Regions from separate parts of the Homo sapiens genome. Here region 2 is linked to region 1. Evidence: promoter capture Hi-C in human tissues and cell types (Jung and others, 2019). All regions are on one chromosome and are shown on one strand. The core of a region is centred on a gene start or on the middle of the fragment in contact, and the rest is flanking DNA. Distances in the headings are between cores, read along the strand shown. Region 1 holds the start of ALOX12 (arachidonate 12-lipoxygenase, 12S type). Region 2 has its middle 36 kb from the start of TEKT1.

Region 1 (7,653 bases), core at 2,095-4,594:
TCGAGCGTCTCAACAGCATGGGGTTGGCACCATTGAGGAACTGGTAGCTGAACAACTCATCATCCTGCCAGCACTGGCGAACCTTCTCTTTGGTGGGCGGTGAAAGGAGGATATATGTACCACAGCCTGCATATCCCTTCTCCAAAATCTACCCCAGGGGTTCAGGTATATAACCCTCCCTGAACCCAGCTTCTGCGTTTTCATTCTCAAGGCCTCTCTGAGTTGACCAGATATGATAAGGTCTCTTCTTGCAAAGAGTTACGGGGGACTGTGGAGTGTGATGAGTCATCCAGAGGGGCCATTAAGGGATTATGGAGACCTCGGGGAACCACTGACCAGCCAGGGCACTCTTCTGGCCCCAGAAGATCTGATCAAAGTCTTCTAGGCAGTTCCAGGAGCTCAGGAGGGTGTAAACACGTTTGAGGGCCATCTCCAGAGCCCTAGGACAGGTATTGAGGCTTAACTCATCAGCTGATCCCTCAGTCCCTCACCGTCTATCATCATTCTTGGCCCTCCCAGCCCTTATTTCACTCCGAGGTCTAGCCTTTTTCTCACCCTGCCTTCAGTGTCCATTCAAAGTCCAGCCTCTTCTCCTCATGGAATCTCATATTTGGAGGTAGATCATCCTTACGGTCTGCAGCGATGGTCAGGGGTAACCCTTCCTTCCAGGTGGCCCAGCTAGGAGTTGGGGACAAAGCTTCAGGAAGGATGTCATGGTCAGTGATGGGGCCAGGGGCAGGGGCAGGGGCAGGGAAGGGGTGGGACAGTGGTGGCGGGGTTAGTTTAAGGGGTGGGTGGTCACCAGTAGATCTGCTGTCTGTCTTTCAGTTCCTTCTCTCGATGCTTCTGGAACATGTCCAAAGCATTGTCTCCTGGCAGGCGGGCTGGGGAGACATCAAGACAATTGGCCTCACGGCTCTGTCTGGTCCTATGCCCGCCTCTTGTCCTCATCTCCCTGTGGTTAGCCGTATTCCATGTTTTCAGCCATGCACTGTTGCTTTTATCTCTGGCTTTGCCTCATTTGATTATCCACCAGACACGTTTATCCCATCTTTGCCAACTTTGCACTCCTGCTTTCTCTTATTTCAGCCCTCATCCTTTGCCTGTAGATAAAAACCTCCTGTTTGCCACCATTTCTTGCTCCTTCACTCATCTTCCCCTACCTGGCCTTACTTCATCAATATCTATGGTTGGAAAAAAATCACCTTAATTAAGGTGATGAAATCTTAGTCACCTATACACCTACACCTACTGTCTACTACAGATTGCTTTGATTAATTTCACATCTTAAACCTCACCTGCCACGCCTTCACCTGTCCTCAAAAGATTCTACATTTGCTTTTTTTTTTTTAAACCTCATCTTTCTGGATTTACTATCATAATCTGTATCTATGGACTTATTCTGGGTCTTTTCTGCATTTACACTCACCTGTCTCAAAGTCATAGATTTGATGTTCCATCCCTACTGCCCTCACTCATCTCTGGATTCATCTCTCTTTTACTCATTACCCATGGTTAAAAATTCACTATTTGGGCCGGGCGTGGTGGCTCAAGCCTGTAATCCCAGCACTTTGAGAGGCCAAGGAGGGCGGATCACGAGGTCAGGAGATCGAGACCATCCTGGCTAATACGGTGAAACTCCATCTCTACTAAAAAAAATATAAAAAATTAGCCGGGTGTGGTGGGGGGTGCCTGTAGTCCCAGCTACTCGGGAGGCTGAGGCAGGAGAATGGCGTGAACCCAGGAGGTGGAGGTTGCAGTGAGCCAAGATCGCACCACTGCACTCCAGCCTGGGCAACAAAGCAAGACTCCATCTCAAAAAAAAAAAAAAAAAAAATTCACTATTTGCCATCCTCATTCCTCCTCGTCTCCTGCGGGCCAGTGTGCTTCTTGTCTTTCACGGGTGTCTTCCGTGTTATTCCAACCAAACCAGCTCTCCAGCATCCTATGTTTTCTTCCCTTAGCTGTCTGCTCTCACGGGTCACCCACCCCCTCCTGTTCCATGTGGTCCCCTCACCTGACTTCTGAGTCACCTTTACATCTCCTTCCTACTTTCACTTTGCTTCTCTGTTTTCCTGGATCGCTGCAACTCCCACTTTCTGTCTTTGCCTTCTTGGAAGATGGGATCTCCAGATCACTTACTCCCTGCCTCCAGCCTCACACGCAGCCTCTCTTAGCCTGTGTAAAACTTTGGGAATTCATAACTCCTTCCCGTTTTCTGTCCAGCACCCTGGGATCCCTACATTTCACCTGCCCTGGGCCCATACATCCTCTAAGTCTGCTCCGACCGTCCTTAACTCTGCCCTCCTAGCCCCGCAGCAGTTCCCGAGACCTTGTGCCTCCTTCCCCGACGCCGCCTGCTCACCGGTGCCCTCGGGCAGGCTCAGGATGTCCTCGCCCTGCACCCAGCGGTAGCACGGGAAGGCCACCTCCGCGCAGGCTCCAGGGCCCTGCACCGTGATGCGGTCGCAGAACCACGCGTCGTCCACCAGCCAGTGGTGCTTGCGCAGCCTCACGAACTGCAGGAGCCCCAAGTCCTCTGCAACGTCATGATCAAACTCCTCCTCCTGTGCAGGCCGGACCCAGGCCAGACTTAGTAGGAGGGACCCGACTGAGGCCGTTTCGAGGACAGAGCCGCGCTCCTGTGCAACCTCAGTTTCTCAGGGCCTCCAAAGACAGCATCGCCTCGTTCCCGCCCCCGCACAACCTGCTCTTTGGGTCTCAGACGCCCGGAGTCGGGTGGAGGACGAGGGCCCGCAGCGCCTGGAGCTGATGCTGGAGCAGCATCGCCCACGTGGGTCCCATTAACTGAGCTCTCCCCGCGCCGGTTCTTGGAGGAGCTTCACGTCTGACCTCTGGCCTCATACTTACATTGGCTCTGGGTCACTGGGAGAAGGAGCTGGGGGCTGCCGGGACCAGGGGCGGGAAAGGGAGATGGGGTTGAGCCCAGCCCGGGATCCCAGCTGCGGACCCTGTCCCTAATCTTGCCCACCTCGTCCCAGCTTCGTGGAAGTCCCAGTCCGCGAGGTCGCGCTGTCACCTCGCCCCCAGCCTCCCGCCCTCCCGCCGCGAGCCCAGCTCGGCCCGGGCCTGGGCCCGGGGTCCCCGCTGCCCTAGCTCCCCTCGCTCCCCGCGCTGACCTCGCCCCGCGCGGGCCGCAGCTGCAGCTCCAGCTCCGCCTCCCCGCGCGTCCCGACCAGCCAAAGCTGCACGCGGTTGTACGACCCGGAGAAGAGCCAGGCCCCGGTGGCCACGCGGATGCGGTAGCGGCCCATGGCGCCCCCCAGCAGCTTAGGCGAGGGGAGCCGGGTCCTGTGCGATTCCCGGGACCGCCCAGGGCTGCCGGCGCCTCGGGGCCACTTCCAACCTTTAAAGGACCGGTCTGCGGCCCCGCCCTCCTCGCAAGTTTTAGGCGCTCCCAAGTCCCCGCCCCAGACTAGCCCAAACCTGCGAGCAGAGCGGTAGAGCCGGCTGTGGGGACTGGCTGTGCCTCCTGGTCGGAGCGTAGCTGCAGGATGATAAAGGGGCCCGAGCCAGGGTGAGGCCAACGGGGTGGGTGCGGCGGGACCTTCCTGGACCTCCCGGGAAGGCGGGATCGAGGTGGGCCTGAGCCCCCGGGTTGGAGCGAACATAGATGAGAACACTTCCCGAGGTCTCCAGGTCTTCTGGGGAGCCAGGAGGAAGTAGGGGATGAGTCCATCTTCCAAACGGAGGGGAAGGTCTCCGCTTTTCTGGGCTGGGACCCGGGGAAGGCAGTGGGCCGGCTTCTGGAAGGTCGGCCTGGGAGGCCGTGCTGGGGTCTGGGGATGTCCCGCGGCTAGACCCGGCGCGGCCCATGTGTCCTCCAGTACCTGAGCTCTGCCGCCCTTGAACGCTGTGCTTCCGTCAACGACCAGGGGTTCCCCAGGGTACCTAGAACCTGGAAATGTAGCAGCTCAACACCCGCTCCCCACCCCGTTTCAAATATCTGGGCGCTGGGGTCCCAATGTACACCAAATATCATGGGCCAGACCTTTGAGAGAGGCCTGAGGCAGGGCAGTGAAAAACTCATTTTGTCCAACCTCCGAAGCGGGTACAGACAATGTTAGGGACCCAGGAACACCAGTCGGGGTGTTAGGGTGCGGGATGGAATTGCTTAGGGACCTGGCCTACGTGGCCAGTTCCCAAGAACTTTGTCTTTTCCAGGTGAGTGCAGCCCCTTCCGCTCCAGTAGGTTCCAGATTAATTTTTTATCCCCAAGCTCTTTCCTGCTCCTTCATGGGTCTCAGGTCTCCTGGAAATCCAGGAACAGCAATTAGCCCACTGCTATTTAGGGCCTTTGTAAACATTGAAGGATGATTCGGAGCTTAGGCTTTCTCTCCCGTGTCAGGAATCAGTCAGATGAAGCCTGCTGCACGCGTCCCTGTCTAGATCTTGATTCAAGTGATTATATGCATTTGGATCTCCGTGGATGCATCTGGTGGCCTGGGCTAGGCCAGTGTAAGTTAAATCTGCTTTCTTGAGCCAGTCCTCAGAAATGACTTGGTGGCCTAGTTGTTGGTAGAGGTAAGTGAGTGGGAGTTTTAGCCCCGCCTTCCAGCCTCCAGATCAGACTCTATCTCAAAAATAAATAAATAAATAAATAAAAATAAAAAAATAAAGTGTCTGTCCCTTACTGGATTCAATTCCCTTTCTTATCTTCTAGGTCCACTCTGGCCTACATCCTCTGCTCAGGACTGCAGGTCGGCCATTTGCTGGTCCCCAGTTCTTCCAGTTTTCTGGGGTCACCCCATTCTGTAATATCCAAATAAAATGGCTCAAATTCCCATCCTGCCTAATAGTAGGATCTGGCCTTTCCACACACATTTTCGTGGGTTACTTTTGCCTAGAAAAGAGTTTGTCTCATACCTACTTCCAAAAGCACTGTTTCTTTGCTGTTTTGTGACTTATTTTCTGCCCACTCTAGTGTACTCTACGGCCACGTGCAGAGAGAGGGAATGAATAATTGAAAAACCGGATTCAAGCTACTGCGCATGCTAAATGAGTGAATATGGCTAAACAGTGAGAACAGTGCTTGGCGTGTAGTCCCTCTATGTATTAGCTGCTATGATTGTATTATTTACAACTGAATGTTAGCGTTGCTCCTCTACCGTTCCTCTCCGCATGCTATTTCTCCATGTCCCTCTCTAGGCCTAGCCTCTCACTAGAGCTCTTATCACTCTAGACCCTTCCCCCTCCTGCTTTTGTTTCCCTTTTAAGCACATGCGCTATGTTGGGAGAATATAATTAGAAGCAAAATTTTCTCCCAACCCAGAAAAAACCTCTCCACGAAAGTAGTGAAGAAAGAAAACAGTTTTATTATTGAATAAGCATTAAACCAGAATGTGAGCACATCACAGGCAGTTTGCTAAGAGACTGCAAAGACAGAAGGAAGTCTCACTTTTATCTAGCCAAGCAGATACAGCCCATTACATATGTGTTCTCAAGATAAACTATAAATAATCTTTAGGAGGACTCGATAGCACCATTTGTCACATATAGTGCAGTCTAGAGACACCTGGCAATTGTGATGACCATCTATGTTAGCTAACTGGCTTAATCAGAAGAAAAACTTCTCTTTTTTTTTTGAGATAGAGTCTTGCTCTGTTGCCCAGGCTAGAGTGCAGTGGCGTGATCTCGGCTCACTGCAACCTCCACCTCCCAGGTTCAAGCGATTCTCTTGCCTCAGCTTCCTGAGTAGCTGGGATTACAGGTGTGCACCACCAAGCCTGGCTAGTTTTTGTATTTTTAGTAGAGACGAGGTTTTGCCATGTTGGCCAGGCTGGTCTTAAACTCCTGACCTCAGATGATCCACCCACCTCGGCTTCCCAAAGTGCTGGGATTACAGGCGTGAGCCACCATGCCCAGCCAGCTTTTCAGATTTTTATGACAGCAGATAGTTTTGCAGCTCAAGCAAAGTGTCCATTTAAGTTAGTCCTACCCTCCCACAGAAACTGGGAAATGAAGGCTCCATCTTTCTTGGTGTTTACATTTCAAGGAGATGGCTCCTGGGTCTTTGTGAAAGACATCCCTGGGTAGTAAAGCTGGCAAGAGGCTGTGTGGCTTCTAAAAATATTTATACACGTTTTGAAGACACAGAAAATAACTTACAAGTTTTCTGGCTGGGTGCGGTGGCTCACGCCTGTAATCCCCGCACTTTGGGAGGCTGAGGTGGGTGGATCACCTGAGGTCAGGAGTTTGAGACCAGTCTGGCCAACATGGGGAAACCCCATCTCTACTAAAAATACAAAAAATTAGCCAGGCGTGGTAGAGGATGCCTGTAATCCCACCTACTTGGGAGGCTGAGGCAGGAGAATTGCTTGAACCCGGGAGGCGGAGGTTGCGGTGAGCTGAGATTGTGCCACTGTACTCCAGCCTGGGCAACAAGAGTGAGACTTTGTCTCAAAAAAAAAAAAAAAATTTTACAAGTTTTCTAAAGCAAATTTTCTAAGAAAAGAGAGGGTGGAGAAGTCTCTTCCCTTACTTTCAACATGGAGAACTAAGCCTTTAATTTTTTTTTTTTTTGAGATAGAGTCTTGCTCTGTTGCCTAGACGGGAGTGCAATGGCGCTACCTTGGCTCACTGCAATCTCCACATCCTAGGTTCAAGCGATTCTCCTGTCTCAGTCTCCTGAGTAGCTGGGATTACAGGCACGCACCACCATGCCTGGCTAATTTTTGTATTTTTGGTAGAGATGGGGTTTTACCATGTTGGCCAGGCTGGTCTCGAACTCCTGACCTCAGGTGATTCCCGCCCCCCTTGGCCTCCCAAAGTTCTGAGATTACAGGCGTGAGCCACCGCGCCTGGCCAGTGTTTTGTTATAGTAGCCCAAACTGACTAGCAGCCTTTTGTTTTGTTTTGTTTTTAGACAGGGTCTCACTCTGTCACCCAGACTGGAGTGCAAAGGCGCCATCACGGCTCACTGCAGCCTTGATCTCCCAGGTTCAGGTGATTGATTATACTGCCTCAGCCTCCCCAGTAGCTGGGACTACAGGCCCGTGCCAACATGCCCGACTAATTTTTGTATTTTTTGTAGAGATGGGGTTTTGCCATGTTGCCCAAGCTGGTCTCAAACTCTTGGGCTCAAGTGATCCGCTGGCCTTGGCCTCCCTCCCAAAGTGCTGGGATTACAGGGGTGAGCCACTGCACCTGGCCATTTTATTTTTAAATTTTGATTTGTCCCTAACAACTACCATTTTGTTCTTATGTATGCCACAGGAAGGATCAGGGGCTTGATTTTGTCAGCACCCTTTGCAGTAGGAAAGGCCACGTGGGCACACGTGTATGCCAAATGTAAATCTTCTTTCAAACTCCCGATTCCCTGCTGTCTGTGCCAGTAGCCAAGCCAACTCCCACATTCCCATTACCTCTCTTTGCAGAACAATTTACCTTCTGTGTGTGTTTTTTTTTTTTGAGATAGAATCATGATCTTGGCTCACTGCAATCTCTACCTCCCAGGTTCAAGTGATTCTCCTGCCTCAGCCTCCTGAGTAGCTGGGATTACAGGCACCCGCCACCATGCCTGGCTAATTTTTATACTTTTAGTAGAGATGGGGTTTTGTCTTGTTGGGCAGGCTGGTCTCGAACTCCTGACCTCAGGTAATCTGCCCTCCTCGGCCTCCCAAAGTACTGGGA
Region 2 (7,653 bases), core at 2,278-4,777, 130 kb after region 1:
CCCGTCTCTACTAAAAATACAAAAAATTAGCTGGGCGAGGTGGCGGGTGCCTGTAGTCCCAGCTACTCGGGAGGCTGAGGCAGGAGAATGGCGTGAACCTGGGAGGCGGAGCTTGCAGTGAGCCGAGATCGGGCCACTGTACTCCAGCCTGGGCGACAGAGCGAGGAGACTCCGTCTCCCAAAAAAAAAAAAAAAAAAAAAAAAAAAAGCAGCTTAGAAAGGTGACTATAGTCAATAATATTTACACATTAAATAAATGTATAAATATATATAAATAAATTTAAAATAACTAAGAGCATAACTGGATTGTTTATAACACAAAGAATAAATGCTTGAGGGGATGAATACCTCATTTTCCATGATGTGTTTATTATGTATTACATGCCAATATCAAAACATCTCATATACCCCATACACCTACTATGAGGTATATGAGTAGGTATATATCTACTACGCACCCACGAAAATTAATACAAAATTATTTTAAAGTTGGCCAGGCGTGGTGGCTCACGCCTGTAGTCCCAGCACTTTGGGAGGCCAAGGCGGGTCGATCACAAGGTCAGGAGATCGAGACCATCCTGGCTAACACGGTGAAACCCCGTCTCTACTAAAAATACAAAAAAAATTAGCCAGGTGTGGTGGCAGGCGCCTGTAATCCCAGCTACTGGGGAGGCTGAGGCAGGAGAATGGCATGAACCTGGGAGGCGGAGCTTGCAGTGAGCCGAGATAGTGCCACCATACTCCAGCCTGGGCTACAGAGCGAGACTCCGTCTCAAAAAAATAAAATTATTTTAAAGTAAAAATAAATAGATCATAAATGAAAAGCAGACAGGTGGCAGAGCAGACCTCCATGTTGTCCTGCTGCCTTGCTGCTGCCCAGGAGTACCCTGTAGGTAAGTCCCAATAAACTCATCTACTCCTCAAACTGAACTTATCTAAGTCATTCTTTGGTGTCTTGGCTCCTTCCCAGTATGGGGGAACTTGCTTCTATACTGTTCTGGCTTTTTCCCATAACAAATGGTGGTTGCTGGGAACTAGGGGGAGGAGGGCAAGTTGCAGAATAGGGAGTTGTTTAATGGGAATAGTTTCAGTTTTGCAAGACGAAGAGTTCTGGAGAATGACTGCCAACAATGTGAATGTATTTAACACTACTGAGCTGTACACTTACAAATGATTAAGATGGTAAATTTTATGTATATTTTGTCACAATTAAGAATAAAAACTTAAAAATGGGCAAAAGAGGCCGTGCACGGTGGCTCACGCCTGTAATCCCAGCACTTTGGGAGGCCAAGGCGGGCGGATCACCTGAGGTCAGGAGTTCAAGACCAGCCTGGCCAACATGGTGAAACCCCGTCTCTACTAAAAATATAAAAACTAGCTGGGCATGGTGATGGGCACCTGTAATCCCAGCTATTCAGGAGGCTGAGGCAGGAGAATTGCTTGAACCCAGGAGACGCAGGTTGCAGTGAGCTGACACAGTGCCACTGCACTCCAGCCTCGGCGACAGAGCGAGACTCTGTCTCAAAACAAAAAACCAAAAAAAAAAGGGCAAAAGATCTGAACAGATATCTCATGAAAGAAGGTAGACATACGGCAAATGAGTATAGGAAAAGATGCTCAAGTCATATGCCATTAGGAAATTGCAAATTAAAACTACAGTGAAGCCAGGTGCAGAAGCTCATGCCTGTAGTCACAACACTTTGGGAGGCCGAGGTGGGAGGATTACTTGAGACCAGGAGGTCAAGAAGCCCGGGCAACAAGACCCCATCTCTGCAAAACAAATTTAAAAATTTTCCATGTGTGTTGTCATGTGTCTGTAGGTCCAGCTACTCTGGAGGTTGAGGCAGGAGGATTGCTTGAGCCCAGGAGGTGGAAGCTGCAGTGAGCCATGATTGTGCCACTGCACTCCAGCCTGAGCAACAGAGCAAGACCCTGTCTCAAACACTAAAAATTAAATAAATAAACAAACTACAATAGATACCAGTGTCAATACCAAATGCTGACAAGGATGAAGAGCAATAGGAACTTTCATTTATTGCTGGTGGGAATGCACGATGGCAGAGTGGCTTTGGAAAATTTGGAAGTTTCCCACAAACTAAATATATAGCTTTACCATCTGATCCAGCAGTTGTACTCCTAGATATTTAACTACTTATTTCAGCACAAAAACCTGCACATAAATGTTTATAGCGGTTTTATTCAAAATTGTCAACAACTGGAAGCAACCAAGATATCCTTCAATAGGTGAGTGAATAAACTGTAGTACAGTCATTCGATGGAATACGATTCAGCAACTTTTAAAATGAGCTATCACACAATTAAAAGACATGGAGCTTCTTGCCACTGAGTTTAAGAAAAAAGTAAGACATGGAGGAACTTCACACTGATGGCATTCTAGACAAGACAAAACTATAGAGACAGTAAAAAGATCAGCAGTTGGCAGAGGCTTGGAGAGAGCTGGAGAGGAATGAATAGGTAGAACATAGACAGTGTTAGGAGGTAAAACTATTCTGCATGATCTTGTAACGGAGAAATCATTATGAGTTTGTCAAAACCCTTAGAACCATACAATACCAAGAGTGAACTAATATAAACTATAGTCTTTAAATAGACTATATTTAACAATGTAAAGTATATGAACTGTAACAACACTAAAGCAAGATGCTAATAATAGGCGAAACTGTGTAAAGAGGAACAGGGATATGTGGGAATTCTCTGTGCTATATACTCAATTTTTCTGTAAATCAAATGCTGTTCTAAAAAATAAAGCCTATTGGCCGGGCACCGTGGCTCACACCTGTAATTCCAGCACTTTGGGAGGCCGAGGCAGGCAGATCACAAAGTCAAGAGATCGAGACCATCCTGGCCAACATGGTGAAACCCTGTCTCTACTAAAAATACAAAAATTAGCTGGGCATGGTGGTGTGCGCCTGTAGTCCCAGCTACTCGGGAGGCTGAGGTAGGAGAATCACTTGAACCCAGCAGGTGGAGGCTGCAGTGAGCTAAGATTGTGCCACTGCATTCCAGCCTGGGCGACAGAGCGAGACTCCGTCTCAGAAAAATAAATAAAGCCTATTCAAAAGCTTAATGGGAAGAATATTAAATAGTCCAATACCTGCAAGCCATAAACAAACTAATGAAGCCTGGATTCCCTTTAGTTTCTAACCCTAAAACCATCCTCATTTCAATACTCCCTGACACCAATTACTTCACGGTTGACTCATGTTTCCACCTTCTCCAGTAAATTCCTCTGCCCTGAATCACAGCATCTATTTGCCTTCACCTGCGTCAACCTAAAATAATCAAAAGAATCAGAGTCTAATTTAAAGGGAGTTTATTCAAGCACAAAGTGTGATTTTGTATTCTGATTTTGGAGCTCTGGATTGAGCTAATTTTATATCAAATTCAGGTGTTTAAGAGTTAATACAGAGTGTTTTTGTTTAGAGCCACTCTTTTTGCTACCTTATCAGCTAGCTAATTTTCTTTGCTTTCTGGGATATCTGATTTGAAATGGCCTGGAATTTTAATTATAAACAGTGACTGTGGTAATAATATAGCTTTCAAAAATCATGAAATGAGGTGGCCACTTTTTAAGGACTGACCAGAAGAAGTTAAAAATCCTGTGTTTCCATAGTGTTTCAAAATCATGAGCTACTCTAAAAACATATCTACTCTCTATATTAATATTAGCAGTTATTCCTCTTGCCAATTGACAAGTCCTGACTAATGTAATTAATTCTGTTTGTTGAGCTCAGGTGGTGCCTAGAAGCTTAACACTTTCCTCTTCTTCTTCTCCTCCTTCTTTTTTTCCCCCCAGTTAAAGATACTATTGTATAACCTGAGTGGTAAGTCCCAGATTTATCCTTTAAGTAAGATCCATTTGTAAACCAAACACCATTGGCAGTAGTAAGGGGGGTCTCTTTGAGGTCAGTCCTGGGAGAAAGAAGTTGATCAGTGATCAGTTAGGGTTATGCAATAGTGCAGTGTTTTATCTGGAAATGGAGACAGAAGAGTTGTAGGATTTAGGTTATTACATCTAGAGATGTTGATATGAGAAGCTGAAAGAAAGAAAACTTCGTATGAGACTAGTCTACTAACTGAATAATATTGAGTATGACGCGAGTTTAGCAAATGCTTTCACAAGAATGAGAAACAAAACCACTAAGGGCTGTCACCATGAGAATTTCGTCAGTTGCTTCAACTAACAAAGCAGGGGCTTTACGGCTCTCATGGAAGATGGAAATCCTCTTATTACAGAGTCTAACTGTTGGCTACAATACCCCACAGGTCTCTTTGGGCTCCATGTTTTTTAGTCAGGACCCTTAAAATCTTTCCATCACTTTCATGTACAAATACTGAAAATAGAAGATTATAATCTGCATGCACCAAAGCTTGGGCATTAGTAAAGTCATTTTTGATCATTTCTGACATTTCTTGATTTTCTTCTGTCCAAACAAGAGGGTCTGGAATGTCCTGTTTAAAAGAAGCATGTAAGGGCCAGGCATTCATTCATTCATTCATTTAGATGGAGTCTTATTCTTTTTGCCCAGGCTTGAGTGCACTGGCGCGACCTTGGCTCACTGCAACCTCTGCCTCCCGGGTTCAAGCGATTCTCCTGCCCCAGCCTCCCAAGTAGCTGGGATTACAGGCTCCCGCCACCACACTCAGCTATTTTTTTTGTATTTTTAGTAGAGGCAGGGTTTCACCATGTTGGCCAGGCTGGTCTCGAACTCCCGACCTCAGGTGATCCACCTGCCTCAGCCTCCCAAAGTGCTGGGATTACAGGCCTCATGCCTGAGCCACTGTGTCCGGCCAAGGGGCAGGCTTTTAAAGAAAAGTTTGGGATCCAAGTTTTTAAATGTCTTGCCAGCCCCCAGAACTCTCCCAGCTGTTTCTTGGTTCTTCATGGCAGAAGAGCTAAAACTCCTTTCAGTCGGTATGGACTAATAGAAAGTCCTTCCTTAAATATTAGGTGGCCTAAGCACGTCACTTGTTTTTGACAGGATTGGTGTTTTTCTTTTTTTTTTTTTTTTTTTTTTTTTTTTTTTTTTTTTTTTTTGAGACGGAGTCTCGCTCTGTCGCCCAGGCCGGACTGCGGACTGCAGTGGCGCAATCTCGGCTCACTGCAAGCTCCGCTTCCCGGGTTCACGCCATTCTCCTGCCTCAGCCTCCCGAGTAGCTGGGACTACAGGCGCCCGCCACCGCGCCCGGCTAATTTTTTTTTTGTATTTTTAGTAGAGACGGGGTTTCACCTTGTTAGCCAGGATGGTCTCGATCTCCTGACCTCATGATCCACCCGCCTCGGCCTCCCAAAGTGCTGGGATTACAGGCGGTGTTTTTCTTTAGAAGCTTTGTGTCCCTTTGAGTCTAATTGTTGTAACAAGTGAATCCCATTTTTAAGAAATAATTGCTTATCCTCTGAGCAGAGGAGTAAATTGCCTGTGTATTTTATTAAAATGAATTTTCAAGAAGTCAATATCTGGGAGATCTGCTTTTAATATTTGTGAAAAGTAAGCTGGGCTCTCAGTTCATCCCTGAGGCATGACTATTCATGTGTATTGTCTTCCTTCCCAAGTGAAGGTGAAGAGAAATTGATTATTTTTATCTACAGAAATATTAAAGAATGTACTACATAAGTCTATTACAGTAAAGAACTCAGCTTCAGCCGGCGAGGTGGCTCATGCCTGTAGTCCCAGCAATTTGGGAAGCCGAGGCAGGTGGATGGCTTGAGCCCAGGAGTTCAAGACCAGCCTGGGTAACAAGGGGGATAACCCCATCTCTACAAAATATACAAAAAGTAGCCAAGTGTTGTGGTGCGCACCTGTAGTCCCAGCTATACAGGAGGCCGAGGCGGGAGAACTGCTTGAGCCCAGGAGATTGAGGCCTCAGTGAGCTATAATCACACTGCACTCCAGCCTGGGCAACAGAGTAAGGCCCTGTCTCAAAGTAAAAAGAAAAGAACTCAGGTTCAGTTGGGATGTCAGTCAACAACATATGGAAGTTTGGCCCTTCTGGATGTCAAAGAGTGACTATGTTTTTAATTGCTGTCAGATTCTGTACAAACCTCCATCCTCTATCGTTTGATTTCCTTACAGGAAGGACTGGAGTATTACATTGGCTGTTACAGGGAATAATCAAGTCCTATTCTTAAATAATCTGAAACTATAGGCTTTATACCTTTTAGGGCTTCAGTTCTTAGAGGGTATTGTTTAAGGTTTGGAAGGGGTTTTGATGAATCTATTGAACTTTGATTGGGGTAGGCAAGATAAATTTTCCAAAATCAGTGGAAGACTTTAACCATGATTGATTAGGTACTACATTTAGTGGGTTTTATAATTTTTTACTACTCAATAATTTAGTGTCTTCCATGTCAATATGGATTGTTGACAAAAGTATGTCCAATAATTCAGTTTTATCATCTAATTCTAAATACATTTTCCTCTTGGGGAGAAAGAAATGTAGGTATTAAATAATTCTAAGAAGTCTCTTAGAGTATTTGTGACAACTACAGATTGAATTGTTTGTTTACTTCAAGGAATGGGACCTTGTAATAAGGTGGACTTTATTACAGATAAGGTGATTCCAGGTCTGTTAATAAGAGTTTGTGTTAGTTCTCCATTTAAAGTAATTTTTATTCATCTTAAAATAGAGCCAGGGTCATAAGCTCAAATATTTAATTGCGATTTTTCTGGCAAAACCAGAAGACTAGGACTCACAGGGTCCTAGTGAGGATCAGGAAATTCCTTAATTCTACCTTTAAGTTCTACCGTGACTGATACACTAGGGCAGGTTAATCCCTACCAGACACTGGCTGTTCCAGGGATGGAACCAGAGCAGAAGCAGGGGGAGGAGAAAGAAGAGGTCGTTCTAGGTAAAGTAGCCCAGGTAATAAAGGACAAAGAGAAGGAGGAGGTGAGGGAGGAGGAGGAGAAATTTCAGCTGTCTTTTTAAATTTGGAAATTGTTTTAGGTAACTTTTTATTCTCCTTTTGTAAAGAAGTAACTCTATTAAAATCTCTTTTGGATGTTTTAAATACCATTGAAAAGAACTCTCCTAACTATTCTGTTTTATCCTAGAACCAGCTTTTTCTTATTGAGCACACAGGTAAATTAGTTGAGGTATCCCACTTTGGCCATTGCAATTTTAGTTTTTCATGAGTTATGTGCAACCATTTTCTAAATAATGACAAGAAGTGGCACCATAAGTTTCATACATGAGTGCAGCTGGAGTTTCTAAAGGTGGATCTCTCCTTAGGGAGAAAGACTTGATTTTGGAGGGACAATAGTCCATAATTTGAGTTCTCTTAAGTGACCGAAGACCGTGGAAATGGAAATTCTGGTCACTCAAGAAGAGTTTAGCTATGTCAGCTGAACCAAGCTTCAGAACCTAGAAAATATAAAATCACAAATTTAATTTGAGCCACAAAGATTTGCTTCCTCTTTTCAAAGAGAAACACTTTCTCCTTCACCAAAGTTGAACAAGGGAAAAGGCTGAAAAGTTTTGGGAATAAAACAAAACCTTATCCTCAAAGGAATGTGAAAGCACAAATCTGCAAACCACAGAATCTCTAGAGAAATAACAAATGAAACTCCTACTTTTAAAAGTAAAGCTTCAATTTCAGTTTTCTTGAGCGTGGAATCAGGATGCTTCAAT

What was found. The method cuts DNA at HindIII sites, captures the fragments that hold promoters and counts their contacts. A contact is called where the count stands out against the background at its distance.
Region 2: a fragment that was not itself captured here is called in contact with the fragment with the promoter of ALOX12 in region 1 in 2 of the 25 tissues and cell types used here (dorsolateral prefrontal cortex and spleen).

Annotation. Positions count from the first base shown.
Region 1 is chr17:6,991,740-6,999,392 of GRCh38, reverse strand. ALOX12 (arachidonate 12-lipoxygenase, 12S type) reads right to left here and starts at 3,344. Exons shown (of 14, transcript NM_000697.3): 1 at 3,141-3,344; 2 at 2,366-2,567; 3 at 803-884; 4 at 556-678; 5 at 337-440; 6 at 1-87. The coding sequence starts at 3,275. All of the region lies in intron 2 of ALOX12-AS1 (ALOX12 antisense RNA 1), which reads left to right. The HindIII fragment of the contact is 20,112 bases long and covers 1-7,653 here.
Region 2 is chr17:6,864,382-6,872,034 of GRCh38, reverse strand. It overlaps the pseudogene ALOX12P2. Among named protein-coding and RNA genes, the nearest start is that of TEKT1, 36 kb to the right of the region's middle. The HindIII fragment of the contact is 5,673 bases long and covers 691-6,363 here.